2 separate regions of the Homo sapiens genome follow, and region 1 is linked to region 2. Evidence: promoter capture Hi-C in human tissues and cell types (Jung and others, 2019). All regions are on one chromosome and are shown on one strand. Each heading gives the region's core, a stretch centred on a gene start or on the middle of the fragment in contact. The rest is flanking DNA. Distances are from core to core; before and after follow the strand shown. Region 1 overlaps TAOK1 (TAO kinase 1). Region 2 holds the start of CORO6 (coronin 6).

The links. Contacts are between HindIII fragments. The study calls those that stand out against the background at their distance.
Region 1: a contact is called between a fragment that was not itself captured here and the fragment with the promoter of CORO6 in region 2, in 2 of the 25 tissues and cell types used here (H1 embryonic stem cells and dorsolateral prefrontal cortex).

Annotation. Positions count from the first base shown.
Region 1 is chr17:29,543,230-29,549,317 of GRCh38, forward strand. It overlaps TAOK1 (TAO kinase 1), which reads left to right. Exons shown (of 20, transcript NM_020791.4): 20 at 1-6,088. It also overlaps the pseudogene LOC124904148. Among named protein-coding and RNA genes, the nearest start is that of ABHD15, 21 kb to the right of the region's middle. The HindIII fragment of the contact is 5,004 bases long and covers 1-4,075 here.
Region 2 is chr17:29,619,190-29,624,882 of GRCh38, forward strand. It overlaps CORO6 (coronin 6), which reads right to left and starts at 3,723. Exons shown (of 11, transcript NM_032854.4): 1 at 3,499-3,723; 2 at 2,035-2,295; 3 at 462-584. The coding sequence starts at 2,232. RefSeq lists silencers at 75-144, 3,387-3,536 and enhancers at 1,122-1,416, 4,324-5,523. The HindIII fragment of the contact is 11,130 bases long and covers 1-5,693 here.

The DNA.
Region 1 (6,088 bases), core at 324-2,823, 78 kb before region 2:
GGGAAATTTTGAAAAGTGGAGTTGATATTAAAAATAAATGTGTATGTGTGTACATATATATACACACACATACACATATATTATGCATGTGGTGAAAAGAATTGGCTAGATAGGGGATTTTTCTGAACACTGCAAAAATAGAACGTAGCAAAATGGCTTCAGTTATCACTTTTGGGTGTCTGTATCCTAAGAAGTTTCTGAAAAGATCTAAAGCCTTTTTATCCCATATCCCAAATTCTTATGAGCCACTCACAGCAGGCAGCATATGTTGAAATAAGTTATTACTGGTACACACCTGCATTGCCTCACCAGTGTATTTATTTGTTATTAAATTGATCTGACTTCTCAGCCTCATTTGGACTAAAAAAAGAAAGCAGAAATCCATGAACACATTGCTTCTCGGCCTTTTGGCTAAGATCAAGTGTAGAAATCCATGAACACTAAAGGACTTCATTGATTTTTTCAGAGAGTAGAAAACAACTTAGTTTTTCTTTTTTCCTGAATGCGTCATAGGCTTGTGAGTGATTTTTGTCCATTCAATTGTGCCTTCTTTGTATTATGATAAGATGGGGGTACTTAAGGAGATCACAAGTTGTGTGAGGATTGCATTAACAAACCTATGAGCCTTCAATGGGGAAGACCAGAAGGGTGAGAGGGGCCCTGAAAGTTCATATGGTGGGTATGTCCCGCAGCAGAGTGAGGAGATGAAGCTTACGTGTCCTGACGTTTTGTTGCTTATACTGTGATATCTCATCCTAGCTAAGCTCTATAATGCCCAAGACCCCAAACAGTACTTTTACTTTGTTTGTACAAAAACAAAGACATATAGCCAATACAAATCAAATGCCGGAGGTGTTTGATGCCATATTTGCAAATTGCCATCTATTGAAATTCTCGTCACACTACATAGACATAATTGTTATCTCCTTTTGGCTTATGTGATTTTCTGTTTACAAGTAGAATAGCCAATTATTTAAATGTTTAGTTGCCACAGTGAACCAGGAGTCACTGAGCCAATGACTTTACCAGCTGCTGACTAATCTTCATCACCACTGTAGATTTTGCTGCATGTGCAGGTCCTCTATTTTTAATTGCTGTTTTCGTTGCTGCAGTACTTTACAAACTTCTAGTTCGTTGAGACTTAGTGACCATTTGGCATCAAGTTAACATCACACAATAGGAAACACCACTTCCACAAGTCTCAAGCCTCAGTGCTAAAGTACTACTGAAAAGGAACTAGGAAGTTTGGCCAATTAAAAAAAAAAAGTAAAATAAGTTATAGTGGTCAGGGAATCTCTTGACGAAAGCTAACTCTTATTTTTCAGGGGGCACATGTTTTGTTTTGTTATGTTTTGTTGTACAATGAAGGATGAACCCAATGCTAAAAAGTCAGTTATTTTCTTGGTTTTCCATTTCTTGTATATAAATTGTGTTGGAGGTGGGTAGGAAGCTGTGAGTATGACTTGAAGAAAAATATCCTTTTCAGTGACAAATCAGAGTTTCTTACAAGTTATTGTCCTGCTCCCTTCCAAGTTGTCTTGAAGAATCCTTGCTGCTAACTCTGGATCCTGCTTTTCCTATAGTCAGAGGGCTCCAAGGTAGAACTCTCTAAGTCCCTCTCAATGGCACTCTTTGCCTAGACCAAACTAATGACCAAACAGTAATCAATCTATCACTGTTGAAGTCCTGGTTTTCTCAACCAAATTTTAAGTCTTTCCCAGGTATGTCAGTCGAGTTGCCATGAATCCTCACCTGTAGGAGTTTCTGGGATTCATTTTAAGGAAACTGGAAGAAAATTAATGTTTTAATGTAAATGTTTTTAAAACCAAGATCACCATAGAGTTCACACAAAATTTTAGGCAGTGTTTCAAGAAGCACTCTTATGTGTTGTTCTTTCAGCCCATGCTCCAGGTCACCGGTTTTTAGGTAAACATGACATGACATGTACTTGTAATATCAGTGAAAGGGGCTTTTAGTCGTCTCAGTATCTTTTTTGCATTCAGGTATTATAGCGTTTCCAACAAATTGAGAAATTACTTATTTGGTGTAAAATGACGAGAGAGCTTTAGAATTTAATAAAATGTCAAAAATACAATTTGATACCCTTAAAAATTATTCATAGATCTGGCTGCTCTGTACTACTGGATGGGTGGAATAGGGAAGCAGATCACTTTTGCATACAAAAACTCTTTCAAACCCAAAATATTATTGGTGGTACATTTTAAAGTCCAATTGTGGACTTAAATTAGTCAAATTGAGAGTTACTGAGTCCATTCAGATCTCCAGTAGGGTTTTGTATCTAATGTATTTGGCCACCAGTTTTACATGTAGGTCATGACTATACCTGGATTTTATCATTAAGTTAACTTTAAAGTATATACAGTTTGCAAAAAATGATTCAAATTAATTGGTTTGTATATGTTTGTGAGATCTAGCTTCTGAGGAATCTCATACATAGTAGGAACCATCATAGAGTAAAGCTTGTAGCAGAAAAATTGGAAGGGTTTTGAGATATCCTAGAGAAAGAGCAAGCACTTTCTGAATCAGTGGGGAAATATCAATATTTGATCAAATTAACACTACCTCCTTCCCAGTGTTGGTGTTCACTCACTATATGTCTTTAAGAAAATTAAAACTATGGAAAATTTGTCTAGCATATCAGAAGTTGTAAATGCTATATCTGGTATCCAGAGGCTGGCTGTAAAAAGTTCCTTGGGGTCACTCTATCTCACATTTTTTTTGGTTAGCATTTTAAAAATGCAAAGCCACATACTTTGAAATATATTATTCCAAATTGAGCTCCCTTCCCTTTGCACATATTTTTTCCTCCCCTTATTGAAGTCAGCTCTAACCCCAAATTCTAGTATCCAAAAGTATTTTTATTTGTATAATGCTATCTGAAAAATGTGTTTATATTATATTTTCAGAGCTGCAATTCTTATTCGCCATTTCAATACCTAGAGATAGAGAGTCTTGTATTTGAAGCCACACACACTGGTGTAATATGCTTAGTACTCTAGGTCAAGGATTTGTTGGTAAATGGAACATTTTAGCATAGTCATGATTTTTGGTTGCCTAGACATCAGGTAAACATTCAGTACACTAAAGAAACTATCCTGGACACTCCCTCCTGCTTCCACCAATTTTTTTCTCACCCCCTTTTCAAAAATTGAAAACTCTATGAGTGTCTTTTTGAGACCATAAAGCAGACTTTAGTAACTTTCTATTTCTGTAAGTACTAAATGTCTGGCATTTTAAACTTTTGTAGAATACATTATGTTGGACACTGGAATAATACTATTTATTTTCACCTGTGAAAAATGACTTCATTGTACTTGAAACACCTCCTTTGCATTTCTCCATTTGTGCCATTCACTAGTGGAAATAAATTGTATTATACCATGATCTACTGGCTTTTTAAAACTGTATTAAATATGCACATTTTTGGTATAGCTATTATCATTTGTATGTATATATTGTATATACATATGAGTGTCTGTATGTGTGTATAGATGGATGGATGTAACTCATACTGTACATTTCCATCAGGGCACTTAAAAGTTCTGTTATTTTTGTTTGGTTTTGTTATTTCAGTCCTCAGTTAAGGCAAGAATGCATGTGTTTCTTAAGAATGAGTACTCTGCGTTGATGTTTATGAGAAGGTGGTCATTAGATGCAGTCTTTTCCTTTTTAATCCCCTCTTAGCACTTCTGTGAGTGGAGAGGACATTAAGTAAAATTTGGAATCATAAGTTGCAATGCAGTAAAATGGTGCTGGGGAAGGAGCCAGTTAGTGTTTCTGTGAGTTTGTGTTGTGATGCAATAAGAGATAAGTAATGCAGAGAGAAATGAACCATGGAAAGTAAGAACACTGATGGTGATTCCTCTGCAAAGATGATAAGAAAAAGAACCAATAAATCACACAATCTTTATGTGCTTTCTATATGTATTTCTTAGTAGTGATACCATTGATCCTCTTACTTTTTTTACTCCATTAATACTAATAATTATATACTTTGCTGAGGATCAAAACAGCCAAGAAAGGAATTACTGCTAAAGCATCTAAGATTCTCCTGAACTGTAAAATCAACAGGAAATGGCCACTGGGAGAGAAGGATTTGGTATTGGGTGAGGGGCTTTCTCCCTTTACCTGCCTCTTCTTGCTTGCTAATAGTAAGTTCTTTGTGCACCTTCCACCACTTCTGAGCCACTACTATTCAAGTAGAGATTTGCCCCAACACATTAACTTTTTCCTTGGAGATTTATATGGTCCTGCATTTTGTCCTGTGCTCACAATGTGAAGTGTCTTCTGTATTCAAATCAAAAAATAATATATTTAAGGTATATAAGTGTGAATCTCCTATAATGATGGAAGAAGAGGTTCTCTTGTCTTAGATAGAAAAGAGCCTTCTCCAAGAGCAATGTCAAAACTTGGGCTGTCATCTTTGAGCTGTTTACCAAAATACAGACCATTATTGAAGAAAAACAAATTATCTATTTTGTTTTCCCCCATCTAACATGATAGTGCCCCCAACCAGGTTGTAGCATTGCCTTTTAAAAGAGACTCACTCACTCTTAGTTTTTAAGAACTGGAAATTTCCCATCCTCAGATCCCTTAAAGGATGAAGAGTTGGCTGTACACTTAGCGGACTTGCCTCTTGTATGCAAGGACTACTGATTGAAGTCTGTTTTGCTGTGTCTGGTTATGTTGTCTGCACTTTTATGAAATCACTACAATAGGTCTGCATTGGAAATGACTATTAATTTGTAAAGAAGTAAGTTTTATTAAACACTGTCTAGAAAAAGAAAGTGAAGCTGAGAACTCTTCCTTTATTGTGCATTTATATTTTCTGCTGAATTCCGGTAGTTCCCTTTAAAGTCATGTTGACTAATGTTTTCCTCCTTGTTTGTATTCAGATTTCCAAAATTTCACTCATACAAGGGAAGAGACTCCATTTAGCTTAACGGTAGTCTTTAGATCATAAGAAATATATAAATTAGTATGCACCTTATCTGCCTGTTGTGGGTTTCTTAAACTTGCACTTCCTACCCACCCAAAGATAGATATCCTTTAAAGAAAATAAAGGCAGAGAATTAAAACTGGGGAGCCATTTACTATGTCACCATCACTGTTAACTGTTTCCCAGCAATCTAAACTTTTTGAAGTTTCAGAGGTGTATTTTTTTTTTGTATATATGTCTGTGTGATTGTATTGTTTTGTTTCTAAATATACAAGGAATTCTTTAAATAGAGAAAAAGGTTAATCCTCACTGAAACACCAGGATGCCCACTGGATATACTAATCTGAACATCTGTAGGTAGTTTGTCATGAAAAAGTGGAGAGAAGATGAGACTTTTGAATGAATGAAAAAGGGTATCTTGATACCCAGAATTCCCCCCAAAGTACGGGTAATTCAACCTGCACAGTTTTCTTTCACTCAAAGTGTTCAGCACTTGTGAGTGAAAAATCATGTAATTATCTGTAAATATGTAGCTAACAAATTGACCTAGTTTCTGTATTTTTTTGTTTTTGTACTAAAGTTTATAGGTCTGTGCCAGCTAGAGAGAAGTTGCTGTCATTACCAGTTGTGGTCCTAGCATCTAACCCTGAAACCATCCTAGGTGACATTTTTAGAATTAATACTTAAATGTTAAACAGGGGGAAATGAAGCTTAATCATGGTCAGGTTTGAGATCTTTTGCAGTGAAATAATTTTATTTAATATAAATGATCACATGTCCTCAATCATGAATGAGGTAGGGAGCCTCTCTCCCCCAGTGGCCATGTTTACAAAAGTGTGTTTTGTCTATAAAGTGCAAGTGTTTTAATGTTTATGTAAATTATGCAGGTGATAACATGGTTTGGAACTGTTTATTGGGCTCTTTAACTGAATTTTCAAATGAAATGAACTATGCTTATTGCTGGCACATTGATCCCATTTCTGGAACATTTTTCCTATTTCCAGAGTTACATATGTTCTTTTGTCATTACCCAATTTAACCTCCCTTTCTCTGATATGCCTTGTAGCCAAAGTATTAAAGGCTGATGAACATAGACAAGGGAAATGCATTTCTTAGAAATCCGTGAAC
Region 2 (5,693 bases), core at 2,473-4,972:
CTGGGTAGGAAGAAAAGGTATATGGTGGGTGGAATGAGGAGCCACCCTGTCCCTCCACTCCTTCCCTACCTTTTTTTTTAACCCTACTGGCTCTCTTGAGTGGTAAGGGTCAAATACAGGGCAAGATGTGGTGGTGCATGCCTAGAACAGAAGCAGCTGGGAGCCAGGAGGGGGCACTGCCAGCTCTCCAGAGACCTCCCATTCACTCCAGCAGGGAGACTTCAGAGCACTGCCCTGCTGCTCTCCAGGCACCAAGTTGGCCATGGCTATAATTAGTCCTAAGCAGTGCATCCTGGGAGGGGGTGGGCATGTAGCTAAAAATAGTCCAGGAGCTGGGCAGGGCAGGGCCCTGGGACCCAGCACCTCCCTTATTACCACCCTTAGCACCTTCCCCAGCACAGGTGAGGCAGCCTTCCCTGCTCCCCTGCTCAACTGCCCAGCAGTAGCCACCTGGCTCCTACCATGATGGTGGTGTCGTCTGAGGCACTGGCGATAACGTTGTCATTGTGTGGACACCAGTCAATATCCAGCACAGGGGCAGTGTGCCCAGTGACCAGTGGGTAGTTCTTATCCACTCGCCCTGTCTGAGGGGTTGGAGAAGAAGATGTGGGGCTACTCTCCTGTGTGTTTTTTGGGGAGTGGGTAGCAGATCTGCTTACATCTCGATTCCTTATTACCTATTTTCTCTTTGCAGATCCCTCTCTGCACTTCTAACCCCATCCAGTCCACTTCCTGCACTTTACTGAAGGCAGAGTTGAAATAATTTAATATTAGGGACTGTGACACAGAGAGGTAAGATGGCCTCATCAAGGACACACAACAAGATACTTGTAGAGCTGAGATTTGAACTTTCCAGCCCAGTGCTCTTCCAAAGACACCTACTTGGAGGAGGCTGTTCTTCAGCCTGTTCTCCTATTGAAGTGTCTGTGGGAATCTCCTGGTGGAAGAGGTCAAGGTGAGATAATAGTGTAGTGCTGGACAGCCCTTTCCTGGCCTCCCTTGGCAGATCTCTTCCTTGTGAACCACTTTTACCTTGGAACCACAAGCAGCAAGCAGTCCTGGTGCCTACTATCCCCAAATGGGAGCTGGGGGCCCATCTATTTTTTGGTCTTCACAGGCTGCTTGTGGGGGTTCTGAGACCTCTGCAGGGGCAGACACTGGTCCAGACCAGGCAGCGGGGGAGAGGGTGGCTATGTGGTACTGAAAGAGCAGACATATTGGGGGAGGAGGCAGCTCCGGCTGAAATTTGAGCCCTGGGGCTGTGTCCCAGGATGATGTCTGCATTGTCTGGGGTGAGTCACTGGCTTTTTCAGGCCTCTTCCTGACCCCGCCACCTGTGGAGCCTACCCTAACAAGGTGTAGGGGCCAGAATCCAGGTCAAGGTCATACCTTGGGGGTTGGGGGAGAGTCATCCTTGGGATGTGGATGGTCAAGGGGCTTAAGGTTATGAAGCTAACGTGGTAGTCATTGCCTGGTCCCCATCCTGAGGGTAGGGAGGGCTCTGGCTTTATGTGTCATGTCCCCCTTCCTTTCCGTTCCCTTTCTTTCTACTTCACTGCAAGTGTCCTTGGAGGTAACCAGGGACTCTTTGGATAGAGCCTGACCCTGTCCTCAGTTTGCTGCTCTGGGATGTGACTTAATCAAATGGTCATCTTGGGCTAGGGAGGAGGTTCTCCACACCCAAAACATGAGGGGATGCGGCATTAGGAGAGGCAGTGATGGAATCTGGCCAGGCTTGGCTGTGCTGTGTCCCAACCATCTCCATCACCCGGCTCCCCTCCTGGTCCCTGCTGGGAATGGGGTGGTGCATGGAGAGGTGGGAGGGCTAGGGAGTGGGAGTAAGCCACCCTGATGTTAGGGTGGGGTGGGGTGGCCTCCCCTCTGGTCCTTGAGGGCTTGGGGAATAGGGAGGAGCCAATCCACACAGATGCTTCTCCTGACTATGGAATGGAACTAGGTGAGAACAAAGGCTCAGGAGTTCCCAGGGGCCCCAGCTAGTGTCCTCCCACTTGCTTCCTTTCCCTGATCCCTCACCTTGGCCAGAGGCAGGACGATGAAGGCACCCCCGCCTCCAGCCTCCACAATAATGGCCAGGAATTTGGGGTTGACGGCACAGAAGGAGCTGTCCCATGTGACCTTGGACACACGGATGTCCTCGTAGGCCTGGTCGGCCTTTGCTGCCTGCCCAAACACATGGCGGAACTTGCTTTGCCGAACCACACGTCTGCTCATAGCTGCAGGCAGAGAGGTAGGATCTCAGTGCCCAGAAATGCCTTTGGTCCTTAGTCCTGTGAGCTGCGGGAGGGAGGAGGAGTGGAGGGGTGGCTGATGAGAAGGGTTATGTGGTCAGGAGTCAGGTATAAATCCATATAGTGTCTGGTCCTAGAAGCAGGGAGCTTTCTTCAAGGTGGTCAAAGTATGGGAAAGTTATTTTGCTGTGTAAAATGCTGTTTAATGTAAGTGGCTAGGATTTGGGGCCTGAATTCTCCACAGAGACCCAGGCTGAGGGGATTGTGGAGCCTAACAGACTGAAAGCTTTCTGGACGTTGGAATGTTTTTGGGAGGAGCCTCAATGCCACACTGCCTGCACCCCCCGCCCCCACCACCGCCAGCCTTGATGAGCATCTCTTCACGGACGTGGTTGTAGCTCCCAGAGGCACCCTGTCCAGAAGCAGAAGACTTGACCATTGGATCTTGGCTTAAAGCCAGGTATGGGGCCAAGACTGCAGCCACCACAGGATACCGAACTCGCATCTCTGGAATAGTTCAGGCAGATGGGGTTTTGCCTTTTCCTAAAATTTTGCCAAGGGGGAAGTTCCTCCTGTCCACCAATCTGAGTCCTTTCTGCTACTGTTTTCATCCCATGCCTTGTGGGGGGACGGGTGGCAGCACAGAGTGAGGTGGATCCCTCTTCTCCCACTCCTTTCTGCACTGGCTTCTCCAGGAAGCCCTGATCATGGTCTTCTGGCTTTTGCCTACCATAGGCTTGTCCGGTTTCTCCTCTGGGTCCTCTGCCCTGGTTGGGCCTTCTTCCTAGTGAACTCTTCTAGGGGTGGGGTCTTCAACCCCATCCTCCACCCCTGCCCCCGCCACGGCCAAGCCAGATTTGCAGGGGTGGGGAGGGTGAGGTGCCTTTTCTCCAGCTAGGGTCTCCCTAGAGGACACACTGAGCACTCCCAAAGCCCCAGCCAGTGGCTCCTGCCCCACCCCAGCCCCAGCATCCGTGTGCCCTTCAAGGCGCGTCTGCGGCCCCGAGCCTGAGGCCCGGCCTCCCTGCACCCTTCTTCAGCCTGCTGCCCTGACACTGCGTTCTTGCGAGACGAGGTGTCTGCGCCCTCCGGGAGCGCTGGCTGCTGTCCGGCCAAATATAGACACCACGTCCTCCCCGCCCGAAACCGAATTTGGCGGCGCGGGGGGAGGAGGCGCAGACCTCTGCCCCTCAGGGACCCCGCCCGCTCCGCTGGCTGCGGTGACGGCCGGGTGTGGGGGGCTGGGTACCTGGTCCTGAGCGGGCTGCGGGGCGCTCACGCTGCGAATCCTCTGCGGAAGGGGCCCGAGTGCGTAGGGGGCCGAGGAAGGCTTCAGGGCGAAGGAGCCACCTCTCCGGGTGTCTGTAGTATCTGGGACCCGGGTGTCCAGCTCCGCACTCTGGCCGATCCTGCGGCTCTCTAGAGCCCGGCGCCGCTGCAGCCCCAGCTGCCGCTGCCATCAACCTAAGAGGGCGGGGCTAGCATAGGGGCGGGGCCAGAGCCCAAGTTGCCCCGCCCCCTCCAGCGGCGGGAAAGTCGAGCGACCCCGACTCCCCTCCCAGCTTCCGCCGGCCTCGGAGAACCATCGAAAATAAATGTGCAGCTGTGTGCTAGGTGCGCACGCTGCTTCCCTCCCTCCATGACTCCCGGGTAGGCTGGGGAGGCTCGGGTTCGCAGACCTAGAGCAGGACGCTTGGAGAGGGAACGGGCGAGGGGGCGTGCGCCCCTAGAGCGGGCAGCCGAGGGAGACCAGGTGCCTCCACCCGCATTCCAGCCTCAATCGCGCTCCCAATTTAGCTGTCCCGATCGGCCGGGACTGCGGGACTGCACTTCCAGGCCTCCCTGGGGGAAAGAGGCCCTAGAGAATGAGGACCCAGGCTGATCCTGATGTAGGGCAAGTGAGAGGGCACCCGACACAGGGTTGTGAATGTTAGTTATTGTTATGAATGGCAATAGCGATCATTTGAGAAACCTAAAATGCTGGCTGTGTGCTAGGCATTTCACCCCATTAGATGAGATTCCATGGAGCAGGGCAGGAAGCAGCTGAAAGAACAAGGGGAGGACCGAGTGTAAAGTGAACCCACCTTGACACTCCCTCCCCTCCCAGATGCAGGGGGAAGAGGCTAGCACCGGTCTCTAGTCACATTTTAGGGGTCAGAGAAGCCAACTCAGAGGCCAGACTCCTAATGTTTTCTGGGCCTTGTTTGAATTGGCGCCCGACTGTGTTCCAGGTAAGCTTCCCCCGTCTCCCCCAATATTCACAGAACTGAATGTTGACCGAGGTCAAGGAGATTAAAGATAACCTGATCAAAATACAGCCAGTGAAGACCAGCCAGTCCCGTAGCTCCAGTCTACCCAGTGTCTGCACATTGCCTGGATTTCTTCCCTTGGATCATAAGGGCATCTGGGGCCAGTTATTACTTCCCACCCTCCAGGGCACACCTGGGAGTGAGTGAATGGAACACAGCCTTCTGAAGGGCAGGAACCAGCACTGGGGAGGAAAGGGAGGGAAGGTGGTAGAAACCATGAAGGGCCCACGAGGCTCCTTTGTTTCTCAGGAAGAGTCCAGGTGGCTTGTAGGGACAGAATCAAATCAAGAGTCAGTGGCTTGTAGGGGAACAGAATAAAAAACTGTTACGAGTGCTCCAGAAATAACTCCTGGCGTAGGGGTGCTGGGGCAGGGTATGAGGGTATGTGAGTCATCTCTCTTTTACCTAAAGATTCCAGGCACATGATTAGGAGGAAAATACCTGAGTGACTCAGTTGCTCCTTTACAACAATAACCCATGCTTATGTGCTAGGCACTGGCACTAAGGGCTTTATACGTATTAATTTCATACTCTTAACAATCCTCTAGGCTGGTCGCGGGTGGCTAACGCCTGTAATCCCAGCACTTTGGGAGGCTGAGGCAGGTGGATCACCTGAGGTCAGGAGTTCGAGACCAGCCTGGCCAACATGGCAAAACCCCATCTCTACTAAAAATACAAAAATTTGCCAGGTGTGGTGATGCACACCTGTAATCCCAGCTACTCAGGAGGCTGAGACACGAGAATTGCTTGAACCTAGGAGGCAGAGGTTGCAGTGAGCTGAGATCATGCCACTGCCCTCCAGCCTGGGTGACAGAATGAGACTCTGTCTCAAATAAAACACACGCACAAAAAACCAAAAAACAATCCTCTAAGGTGGGTACTGTTGTTATCCCTATTTAACAGTTGAGGAAATGGAGCCACAAAGAGGTTAGGTGGCTTACCCATCACAACCTCAACTGGTAGTTGATGTAGCTATGATTCTTACCCACGTGGTCTGGCATCTGGTTCTTGCTTTTCAGCAGCATGCATTTCTGTCTCTCCCTGAAGGACAGTGCCACTTTATCTCACAAGTGCTGAGCTAAAACGTAACTGAGAGTTTATACTGTGTGGCACAGAGGAAAGGATGCCTGGAATG